Regions from separate parts of the Homo sapiens genome. Here region 1 is linked to region 2. The links are contacts of gene promoters, found by promoter capture Hi-C in human tissues and cell types (Jung and others, 2019). All regions are on one chromosome and are shown on one strand. The core of a region is centred on a gene start or on the middle of the fragment in contact, and the rest is flanking DNA. Distances in the headings are between cores, read along the strand shown. Region 1 overlaps FLG (filaggrin). Region 2 holds the start of FLG2 (filaggrin 2).

Region 1 (6,057 bases), core at 167-2,666, 50 kb after region 2:
AGAGACACTCAGACGACTCCGAGAGGTTGTCTGGGTCTGCTTCCAGAAACCATCATGGATCTTCTCGGGAGCAGTCAAGAGATGGCTCCAGACACCCTGGGTTCCATCAAGAAGACAGAGCCAGTCACGGGCACTCTGCAGACAGCTCCAGACAATCAGGCACTCATCACACAGAGTCTTCCTCTCATGGACAGGCTGTGTCATCCCATGAACAGGCAAGATCAAGTCCAGGAGAAAGACATGGATCCCGCCACCAGCAGTCAGCAGACAGCTCCAGACACTCAGGCATTGGGCACAGACAAGCTTCATCTGCAGTCAGAGACAGTGGACACCGAGGGTCCAGTGGTAGTCAGGTCACTAACAGTGAGGGACATTCAGAAGACTCAGACACACAGTCAGTGTCAGCCCACGGACAAGCTGGGCCCCATCAGCAGAGCCACAAAGAGTCCGCACGTGGCCAGTCAGGGGAAAGCTCTGGACGTTCAAGGTCTTTCCTCTACCAGGTGAGCTCTCATGAACAGTCTGAGTCCACACACGGACAGACTGCACCCAGCACTGGAGGAAGACAAGGATCCCGCCATGAGCAGGCACGAAACAGCTCTAGGCACTCAGCATCCCAAGACGGTCAGGACACCATTCGTGGACACCCGGGGTCAAGCAGAGGAGGAAGGCAGGGATCCTACCACGAGCAATCAGTAGATAGGTCTGGACACTCAGGGTACCATCACAGCCACACCACACCCCAGGGAAGGTCTGATGCCTCCCATGGGCAGTCAGGACCCAGAAGTGCAAGCAGGCAAACAAGAAATGAGGAACAATCAGGAGACGGCTCCAGGCACTCAGGGTCACGTCACCATGAACCTTCCACTCGGGCCGGCAGCTCTAGACACTCACAGGTGGGCCAGGGAGAATCAGCGGGGTCCAAGACAAGCAGGCGCCAGGGATCCAGTGTTAGTCAGGACAGGGACAGTGAGGGACACTCAGAAGACTCTGAGAGGCGGTCTGAGTCGGCTTCCAGAAACCATTATGGATCTGCTCGGGAGCAGTCAAGACATGGCTCCAGGAACCCCAGGTCCCATCAAGAAGATAGAGCCAGTCATGGGCACTCTGCAGAGAGCTCCAGACAATCAGGCACTCGTCATGCAGAGACTTCCTCTGGTGGACAGGCTGCATCATCCCAGGAACAGGCAAGGTCAAGTCCAGGAGAAAGACATGGATCCCGCCACCAGCAGTCAGCAGACAGCTCCACAGACTCAGGCACTGGGCGCAGACAAGATTCATCTGTAGTCGGAGACAGTGGAAACCGAGGGTCCAGTGGTAGCCAGGCCAGTGACAGCGAGGGACACTCAGAAGAGTCAGACACACAGTCAGTGTCAGCCCACGGACAGGCTGGGCCCCATCAGCAGAGCCACCAAGAGTCCACACGTGGCCAGTCAGGGGAAAGGTCTGGACGTTCAGGGTCTTTCCTCTACCAGGTGAGCACTCATGAACAGTCTGAGTCCGCCCATGGACGCACAGGGCCCAGCACTGGAGGAAGACAAAGATCCCGCCACGAGCAGGCACGAGACAGCTCCAGGCACTCAGCGTCCCAAGAGGGTCAGGACACCATTCGTGGACACCCAGGGTCAAGCAGAGGAGGAAGGCAGGGATCCCACTATGAGCAATCGGTAGATAGTTCTGGACACTCAGGGTCTCATCACAGCCACACCACGTCCCAGGAAAGGTCTGATGTCTCCCGTGGGCAGTCAGGATCCAGAAGTGTCAGCAGACAAACACGTAATGAGAAACAATCAGGAGACGGCTCCAGGCACTCAGGGTCGCGTCACCATGAAGCTTCCTCTCGGGCCGACAGCTCTAGACACTCGCAGGTGGGCCAGGGACAATCATCAGGGCCCAGGACAAGCAGGAACCAGGGATCCAGTGTTAGCCAGGACAGTGACAGTCAGGGACACTCAGAAGACTCTGAGAGGTGGTCTGGGTCTGCTTCCAGAAACCATCTTGGATCTGCTTGGGAGCAGTCAAGAGATGGCTCCAGACACCCTGGGTCCCATCACGAAGACAGAGCCGGTCACGGGCACTCTGCAGACAGCTCCAGACAATCAGGCACTCGTCACACAGAGTCTTCCTCTCGTGGACAGGCTGCGTCATCCCATGAACAGGCAAGATCAAGTGCAGGAGAAAGACATGGATCCCACCACCAGCTCCAGTCAGCAGACAGCTCCAGACACTCAGGCATTGGGCATGGACAAGCTTCATCTGCAGTCAGAGACAGTGGACACCGAGGGTACAGTGGTAGTCAGGCCAGTGACAGTGAGGGACATTCAGAAGACTCAGACACACAGTCAGTGTCAGCACAGGGAAAAGCTGGGCCCCATCAGCAGAGCCACAAAGAGTCCGCACGTGGCCAGTCAGGGGAAAGCTCTGGACGTTCAGGGTCTTTCCTCTACCAGGTGAGCACTCATGAACAGTCTGAGTCCACCCATGGACAGTCTGCGCCCAGCACTGGAGGAAGACAAGGATCCCATTATGATCAGGCACAAGACAGCTCCAGGCACTCAGCATCCCAAGAGGGTCAGGACACCATTCGTGGACACCCGGGGCCAAGCAGAGGAGGAAGACAGGGGTCCCACCAAGAGCAATCGGTAGATAGGTCTGGACACTCAGGGTCTCATCACAGCCACACCACATCCCAGGGAAGGTCTGATGCCTCCCGTGGGCAGTCAGGATCCAGAAGTGCAAGCAGAAAAACATATGACAAGGAACAATCAGGAGATGGCTCTAGGCACTCAGGGTCGCATCATCATGAAGCTTCCTCTTGGGCCGACAGCTCTAGACACTCACTGGTGGGCCAGGGACAATCATCAGGGCCCAGGACAAGCAGGCCCCGGGGATCCAGTGTTAGCCAGGACAGTGACAGTGAGGGACACTCAGAAGATTCTGAGAGGCGGTCTGGGTCTGCGTCCAGAAACCATCATGGATCTGCTCAGGAGCAGTCAAGAGATGGCTCCAGACACCCCAGGTCCCATCACGAAGACAGAGCCGGTCATGGGCACTCTGCAGAGAGCTCCAGACAATCAGGCACTCATCATGCAGAGAATTCCTCTGGTGGACAGGCTGCATCATCCCATGAACAGGCAAGATCAAGTGCAGGAGAGAGACACGGATCCCACCACCAGCAGTCAGCAGACAGCTCCAGACACTCAGGCATTGGGCACGGACAAGCTTCATCTGCAGTCAGAGACAGTGGACACCGAGGGTCCAGTGGTAGTCAGGCCAGTGACAGTGAGGGACATTCAGAAGACTCAGACACACAGTCAGTGTCAGCCCACGGACAGGCTGGGCCCCATCAGCAGAGCCACCAAGAGTCCACACGTGGCCGGTCAGCAGGAAGGTCTGGACGTTCAGGGTCTTTCCTCTACCAGGTGAGCACTCATGAACAGTCTGAGTCCGCCCATGGACGGACCGGGACCAGCACTGGAGGAAGACAAGGATCCCACCACAAGCAGGCACGAGACAGCTCCAGGCACTCAACGTCCCAAGAGGGTCAGGACACCATTCATGGACACCCGGGGTCAAGCAGTGGAGGAAGGCAGGGATCCCACTACGAGCAATTGGTAGATAGATCTGGACACTCAGGGTCTCATCACAGCCACACCACATCCCAGGGAAGGTCTGATGCCTCCCATGGGCACTCAGGATCCAGAAGTGCAAGCAGACAAACTCGTAACGATGAACAATCAGGAGACGGCTCCAGGCACTCAGGGTCGCGTCACCATGAAGCTTCCTCTCGGGCCGACAGCTCTGGACACTCGCAGGTGGGCCAGGGACAATCAGAGGGGCCCAGGACAAGCAGGAACTGGGGATCCAGTTTTAGCCAGGACAGTGACAGTCAGGGACACTCAGAAGACTCTGAGAGGTGGTCTGGGTCTGCTTCCAGAAACCATCATGGATCTGCTCAGGAGCAGCTAAGAGATGGCTCCAGACACCCCAGGTCCCATCAAGAAGACAGAGCTGGTCATGGGCACTCTGCAGACAGCTCCAGACAATCAGGCACTCGTCACACACAGACTTCCTCTGGTGGACAGGCTGCATCATCCCATGAACAGGCAAGATCAAGTGCAGGAGAAAGACATGGATCCCACCACCAGCAGTCAGCAGACAGCTCCAGACACTCAGGCATTGGGCACGGACAAGCTTCATCTGCAGTCAGAGACAGTGGACACCGAGGGTACAGTGGTAGTCAGGCCAGTGACAATGAGGGACATTCAGAAGACTCAGACACACAGTCAGTGTCAGCCCACGGACAGGCTGGGTCCCATCAGCAGAGCCACCAAGAGTCCGCACGTGGCCGGTCAGGGGAAACGTCTGGACATTCAGGATCTTTCCTCTACCAGGTGAGCACTCATGAACAGTCTGAGTCCTCCCATGGATGGACGGGGCCCAGCACTAGAGGAAGACAAGGATCCCGCCATGAGCAGGCACAAGACAGCTCCAGGCACTCAGCATCCCAAGACGGTCAGGACACCATTCGTGGACACCCGGGGTCAAGCAGAGGAGGAAGGCAGGGGTACCACCACGAGCATTCGGTAGATAGCTCTGGACACTCAGGGTCCCATCACAGCCACACCACATCCCAGGGAAGGTCTGATGCCTCCCGTGGGCAGTCAGGATCCAGAAGTGCAAGCAGAACAACACGTAATGAGGAACAATCAGGAGACGGCTCCAGGCACTCAGGGTCGCGTCACCATGAAGCTTCCACTCATGCCGACATCTCTAGACACTCACAGGCAGTCCAGGGACAATCAGAGGGGTCCAGGAGAAGCAGGCGCCAGGGATCCAGTGTGAGCCAGGACAGTGACAGTGAGGGACATTCAGAAGACTCTGAGAGGTGGTCTGGGTCTGCTTCCAGAAACCATCATGGATCTGCTCAGGAGCAGCTAAGAGATGGCTCCAGACACCCCAGGTCCCATCAAGAAGACAGAGCTGGTCATGGGCACTCTGCAGACAGCTCCAGACAATCAGGCACTCGTCACACACAGACTTCCTCTGGTGGACAGGCTGCATCATCCCATGAACAGGCAAGATCAAGTGCAGGAGAAAGACATGGATCCCACCACCAGCAGTCAGCAGACAGCTCCAGACACTCAGGCATTGGGCACGGACAAGCTTCATCTGCAGTCAGAGACAGTGGACACCGAGGGTACAGTGGTAGTCAGGCCAGTGACAATGAGGGACATTCAGAAGACTCAGACACACAGTCAGTGTCAGCCCACGGACAGGCTGGGTCCCATCAGCAGAGCCACCAAGAGTCCGCACGTGGCCGGTCAGGGGAAACGTCTGGACATTCAGGATCTTTCCTCTACCAGGTGAGCACTCATGAACAGTCTGAGTCCTCCCATGGATGGACGGGGCCCAGCACTAGAGGAAGACAAGGATCCCGCCATGAGCAGGCACAAGACAGCTCCAGGCACTCAGCATCCCAATACGGTCAGGACACCATTCGTGGACACCCGGGGTCAAGCAGAGGAGGAAGGCAGGGGTACCACCACGAGCATTCGGTAGATAGCTCTGGACACTCAGGGTCCCATCACAGCCACACCACATCCCAGGGAAGGTCTGATGCCTCCCGTGGGCAGTCAGGATCCAGAAGTGCAAGCAGAACAACACGTAATGAGGAACAATCAGGAGACAGCTCCAGGCACTCAGTGTCACGTCACCATGAAGCTTCCACTCATGCCGACATCTCTAGACACTCACAGGCAGTCCAGGGACAATCAGAGGGGTCCAGGAGAAGCAGGCGCCAGGGATCCAGTGTGAGCCAGGACAGTGACAGTGAGGGACATTCAGAAGACTCTGAGAGGTGGTCTGGGTCTGCTTCCAGAAACCATCGTGGATCTGTTCAGGAGCAGTCAAGGCACGGCTCCAGACACCCCAGGTCCCATCACGAAGACAGAGCCGGTCACGGGCACTCTGCAGACCGCTCCAGACAATCAGGCACTCGTCACGCAGAGACTTCCTCTGGTGGACAGGCTGCATCATCCCATGAACAGGCAAGAT
Region 2 (6,530 bases), core at 706-3,205:
AATGCAAAGAATACAAAAGACTGAATAATGGAGTTCTGAACTATGGAGGAGTTTCAGAGTTCTCAACTATAATGCTGGAGTGACAGTGCAAAAATGCTTTAAAATTCTGTCTCAGTGTGGAGTCTGGGGCCTGAAAGTCTTTCTGACACAGCAGCCATCTTAACAAAAATGCACTTCCAAAAGATGCATATGATTGAAAATGACCATAGTATCCAACAGCAACCATAACTTTCTGTGTGGTTGTTTTGGTCTAGGATTCCTTGGCTATGTGAGCAATTGACATATTTCAAGGGCCTATTCATTAACATTTTATGAACAGACACTCATTCTTAGTGTTTACCAAGCTCTAGGTGCTGCCTAGATGGTGGAATGAATAAGATATGATGACTGGCCCAAAGCAATGCCCAGATAGGAGTTTATTGACTCCATATATGTAGAATATATATGGTTAAGTGCTAGGCTTTAGCATCGGCTAGCATGTGTATCTGTTCTAGTGCTGCTACTAACTAGCTGCGATTTGTAACAAATGTTTACATTGCTCTATGCTTTTATTACCTTATCTATAAAATGGGGTTATTTTGAGGAATAAATAGATAAGCATGTAAACCTACCATGTATAGAAGATAGTAAGCACTTAGCACTTAATGGTAGCTGCTATCCTCCTCATCATCATCATTATCACCTGGTAGCAAAGTACAGCAGAATTGGCTCTCCATGCTTAAGACTTACAGCTCTCTGATTATTTTTGTTACCCTCAAGTGTATTTGATATACTTTCTGTACATAAGTGAACATTTTCCCAAGGGTCCAGGCCCTAAACATGCCAGACTACCAGTGGATCGCAGAGTGCTGGAAGAAAGCTCACTCTAAATTCACCCTGAACATATCTGAAAACATTATTTTTATATATAGCCAATTACACTTTTCTAGCCTAGAAATGAGCCTTCACAAGGTCAGAGAATGTTTCCTCTCTTCCTAACAGCACTCTGTATGTTACTTTTTTATATTATTTGCGTTTGAGTGGGCCTTACACTCCTAAAATGGTGCATAATTTTTGCATGATAGTTATATATGATAAATACACAGAGGTAAGTTAGTATAATGGTAAACAGCAATTGCAATAAGGTAGATACAGGTTCAACTTCTGGTTTCTCTGCCTACTAGCTATGACCTTGGAGAAGATCCTTATGCTTCCAGAACCTGTCTCTATAAAATGGGATAATAAATACATATCTCGTATGAAGGTTGTGAAGATTAAATGAGGTGATAAGATCTAGTATTTGGTAACATAATATGGTAACTATAGTTAACTATTTATTGTATATTTTTAAATAACTAAAATAGTAGAATTAGAATGTTCCTACTACAAAGAAATGCTTGAGGTGCTGGATACCCCAATTACTGTAATTTGATCATTACACATGGTATGCCCATATCAAAACATCACATGTACCCAACAATTATATACAACTATGTACCCATAACTAAAAGTGCAGATTTTTTAAAGATTGAGATGGTTTGTTTAAAGTATTTAGCACATAGTAAATTCTCAATAAATGTCACTTTTTATTATTACAAAAAAGACATGAATTAGATGAACCTAGTGGCTCAGGTTCATTTTCAATTAAATAAGCATTTATTGTGCACCTTCCAAGTATCTTACACTCTGCTACTTTCTGTGGGTACTAGTTAAAAGAAATGTATAACATGAGTCCTCTAAAACAAAGTCTGTGCTTTTCACATGTATATGACCCTGAAAAAAAAGGTATCTTGCAACCATGTCCTCGTACTGGAAGGTGGGGCTGGTACTAGCCTTTCTGCAATCATCTGTAGATAACAATGTGAAGGAGGAAGGTAAATATGTAGAGGTGGAGTTAGGTTTGATGGAAAATGAATCACCTCATTCACTATAATCACTATAAGCTATATAAGGGTCATTATCCCAATCCATCGTCACCCTGCAAGCTGCATCAGGCTTTATCCTACTTGTTCCTTTGGTGAACCAGGTGAGAGAAAATTCATCCAGCTACATTTATGAATATTTGGTGTTGTCCATAGTAGAAGTCTAGGGATATAAGCTAAGGCAGAGTTCATGTATATTTTGCCTTTCTTTTCTTTTTTGTTTCTTTCTTTCATTTTCTTTTCTTTTTGTTTGCTTATTTGTTTGGTTAGTTTAGTTTATTCTGGGGCCTTTTTGTAGTTAAGTTCATTTTTATGGAGAAGAATAATGCAAGTAAAAGTTCACCTTCCTCTAGGCCATTCCACAGTCTGTTCCGAGTCTTTTTCCATGCCCTCTTTTCTGGGCTGTCCAGCTCAAACTGGGAGGCAGCTGGGTCTGTTGCAGAGTCCCTTCCTTATTCAGTGTTGGTTCCCAGAGCTCCAAGATCTAATTATCCACTAGTTAAACTGCTGCCTGCATTGCTGAGCTCTTCTTCTTGATTAATTAAAGAAAACAGTGTTTGGTCAAGTGCTTGACATTAAGAGAGTTCCTAAGCTCTACTGAGTTCTACTGTCTCATGCCTATGAAACACCAAGCTATTTTGAGCCCCTTTGCCCATTTTTAATTTGCTGAAGGCCTTAAGGGTCCAGTTTAGCTTCTGGTGCCCAGAGGATAAACAGATGTGCATGGTGGAAGGTCTGTCACTTTTGACTCAAGAAAAGCAGTGAAACTAGAAAGAGAGATTGAGGCAATGGTGTCTGGCTGGTTCTGGAAATTTTGGAAGCCTTAGAACAACACCCAGAATGCCAACACACTCAAAGTGTAGAGATACTATGTAGAGACTATACTTACCCATGACAGGAAATATAGAGACTTGAGGTCTATTCTCAGTTGAACCAGTAACATGCCAAGACTTGATCACAGAAAAGTAACTCAAAGTTAACAAAGTTAATTTTCATTGTGTTAAACGGGGTTGTATCATCCCTGGCCCATTCTTACGTTTTGAGATTTAAAAAACAAGAGGTTAAAAAAATCATGCTGGTTATTATTAAAATGAAAATTGCTGATAAAAGGAGAGAATATGAATAATAGGGTTCTTTGTTTTTCTGTGTCCAGGTTCACTTAAACTTGCAAAAAGATGACCGACCTCTTGAGAAGTGTTGTCACCGTAATTGATGTTTTCTACAAATACACCAAGCAAGATGGGGAGTGTGGCACACTGAGCAAGGGTGAACTAAAGGAACTTCTGGAGAAAGAGCTTCATCCAGTTCTGAAGGTGAGAGCCATGTGCCAGAACTGAAGGCTGCTGGAGTCCTGTACAAGCTCTGTTGTATGACCCAGATCAGCTAAAAAGTGCACAGCCCCAGTGAACTCTAAGCAAACTCTATGAGTGGTATTTTGGGGATGCCAGAAAGTCTGTTAAAGCAGCAGATATTTTAAAGAAAGTGAATGTTTCGTCCTCACTTTTCCACCTATGCACTCCTACCTCATAGACTCTCAGACTTTCTCATACACCCAGGCTTTTCCTTAGAAAAAGCAGAAAATAAAATTATACTAGGACACGAATTAATAAATTATCCTATCAAATGGAAAAAAAAGTATAGAAAGGGAAATCATCTACATAGGGAGTTGACAAAATAGCCATGATTAAGAATCAAAAATAAAATGCCAGCATTTTATTCCATCTACTTAAAAAGGACTCAGCTAGGCGCGGTGGCTCATGCCTGTAATCCCAGCACTTTGGGAGGCCGAAGTGGGTGAATCACAAGGTAAGGAGATCAAGACCATCCTGGCTAATACGGTGAAACCCCATCTCTACTAAAAATACAAAAAATTAGCCGGGCGTGGTTGCATGCCCCTGTAGTCCCAGCTACTCGGGAGGCTGAGGCAGGAGAATGGCGTGAACCTGGGAGGCAGAGCTTGCAGTGAGCAGAGATCGCACCACTGCACTCCAGCCTGGGCTACAGAGCAAGACTCCATCTCAAAAAAAAAAAAAAGACTCAGTTATTAACTTCAAAATAATAGATGATAAATTCCAACATGGAAGATATTAACATGTAATAGTTACAATTTATGTAAAACTTAGAAATACCAGTTACTGAACTTAGTTTATTCCACTCCTTCCTGTAGGCCTTACCTAAGCACTTAATCCTTTAGCCTAAATCCTTGAAATGTCTTCTTCTGAGGATCCCAGTAGTCTTTATTTTCTATTAACCCTTAACATTTACTGGGTTCTATTAACCTAAAGTAATCCTTTATTGGACTAAAACTACATCATGTCAAACATCCATAATTTCACAGCGCTATTTAAATGTGTTAGTTGAGTATGCAGGTTAGGCTGACCAGGTCTCCCTTGGTGTGTCACTCATATACAGAACCCAGATGATCCAGACACAGTGGATGTCATCATGCATATGCTGGATCGAGATCATGACAGAAGATTGGACTTTACTGAGTTTCTTTTGATGATATTCAAGCTGACTATGGCCTGCAACAAGGTCCTCAGCAAAGAATACTGCAAAGCTTCAGGGTCAAAGAAGCATAGGCGTGGTCACCGACACCAAGAAGAAGAAAGTGAAACAGAAGAGGATGAAGAGGATACACCAGGACATAAATCAGGTTACAGACATTCAAGTTGGAGTGAGGGAGAGGAGCATGGATATAGTTCTGGGCACTCAAGGGGAACTGTGAAATGTAGACATGGGTCCAACTCCAGGAGGCTAGGAAGACAAGGTAATTTATCCAGCTCTGGGAACCAAGAGGGATCTCAGAAAAGATACCACAGGTCCAGCTGTGGTCATTCATGGAGTGGTGGCAAAGACAGACATGGTTCCAGCTCTGTAGAACTGAGAGAAAGAATAAACAAGTCACACATTAGCCCTTCTAGGGAATCTGGGGAGGAGTATGAATCTGGATCTGGATCAAACAGTTGGGAAAGGAAAGGTCATGGTGGTCTGTCATGTGGATTGGAGACTAGTGGGCATGAATCAAACTCTACTCAGTCAAGAATTAGAGAACAAAAGCTTGGGTCTAGCTGTTCAGGTTCAGGAGACAGTGGGAGGCGAAGTCATGCATGTGGTTATAGCAATTCAAGTGGGTGTGGAAGGCCACAAAATGCTTCAAGTTCTTGTCAGTCACATAGATTTGGAGGGCAAGGAAATCAATTTAGCTATATTCAGTCAGGCTGTCAGTCAGGAATTAAGGGAGGACAAGGCCATGGCTGTGTCTCAGGAGGTCAGCCCTCTGGATGTGGTCAACCTGAGTCTAACCCCTGTAGTCAGTCCTATAGTCAGAGAGGATATGGAGCTAGAGAAAATGGTCAACCACAGAACTGTGGAGGACAATGGAGAACAGGCTCAAGTCAGTCCTCTTGCTGTGGACAATATGGGTCTGGAGGTAGCCAGTCTTGTAGTAATGGTCAACATGAATATGGTTCCTGTGGCCGCTTTTCAAACTCTTCTAGTTCAAATGAATTTTCCAAATGTGATCAATATGGGTCTGGTTCAAGTCAGTCTACTAGCTTTGAACAACATGGAACAGGCTTGAGTCAGTCCTCTGGGTTCGAACAACATGTATGTGGCTCAGGTCAAACTTGTGGCCAGCATGAGTCTACATCAAGTCAATCCTTGGGCTATGACCAGCATGGGTCTAGCTCAGGTAAGACATCTGGCTTTGGACAACATGGGTCTGGCTCAGGTCAGTCCTCTGGCTTTGGACAATGTGGGTCAGGCTCAGGTCAGTCCTCTGGCTTTGGACAGCATGGGTCTGTCTCAGGACAATCCTCTGGTTTTGGACAGCATGGGTCTGTCTCAGGACAATCCTCTGGTTTTGGACAACATGAGTCTAGATCACGTCAGTCTAGCTATGGCCAACATGGTTCTGGCTCAAGTCAATCATCTGGCTATGGCCAATATGGGTCTAGAGAGACATCTGGCTTTGGACAACATGGGTTGGGCTCAGGTCAATCCACTGGCTTTGGCCAATATGGATCGGGCTCAGGTCAGTCCTCTGGCTTTGGACAACATGGGTCTGGCTCAGGACAATCCTCTGGCTTTGGACAACATGAGTCTAGATCAGGTCAGTCTAGTTATGGCCAACACAGTTCTGGCTCAAGTCAGTCATCTGGCTATGGCCAACATGGGTCTAGACAGACATCTGGCTTTGGACAACATGGGTCAGGCTCAAGTCAATCCACTGGCTTTGGCCAATATGGATCAGGCTCAGGTCAGTCCTCTGGCTTTGGACAACATGTTTCTGGCTCAGGACAATCCTCTGGTTTTGGACAACATGAGTCTAGATCAGGTCATTCTAGCTATGGCCAACATGGTTTTGGCTCAAGTCAATCATCTGGCTATGGTCAACATGGGTCAAGTTCAGGACAGACATCTGGATTTGGACAACACGAGTTAAGCTCAGGTCAGTCTTCCAGCTTTGGCCAACATGGATCAGGCTCAGGTCAGTCCTCTGGCTTTGGACAACATGGGTCTGGCTCAGGACAATCCTCTGGCTTTGGACAACATGAGTCTAGATCAGGTCAGTCTAGCTATGGCCAACACAGTTCTGGCTCAAGTCAGTCATCTGGCTATGGCCAA

The links. Contacts are between HindIII fragments. The study calls those that stand out against the background at their distance.
Region 1: a contact is called between a fragment that was not itself captured here and the fragment with the promoter of FLG2 in region 2, in 4 of the 25 tissues and cell types used here (bladder, dorsolateral prefrontal cortex, spleen and 1 more).

What each region holds. Positions count from the first base shown.
Region 1 is chr1:152,305,000-152,311,056 of GRCh38, reverse strand. FLG (filaggrin) reads left to right here. Exons shown (of 3, transcript NM_002016.2): 3 at 1-6,057. The region is part of intron 3 of CCDST (cervical cancer associated DHX9 suppressive transcript); the gene reads right to left. Among named protein-coding and RNA genes, the nearest start is that of FLG, 17 kb to the left of the region's middle. The HindIII fragment of the contact is 3,198 bases long and covers 1-3,015 here.
Region 2 is chr1:152,355,431-152,361,960 of GRCh38, reverse strand. It overlaps FLG2 (filaggrin 2), which reads left to right and starts at 1,955. Exons shown (of 3, transcript NM_001014342.3): 1 at 1,955-2,005; 2 at 3,055-3,214; 3 at 4,314-6,530. The coding sequence starts at 3,077. All of the region lies in intron 7 of CCDST (cervical cancer associated DHX9 suppressive transcript), which reads right to left. The HindIII fragment of the contact is 6,746 bases long and covers 1-4,711 here.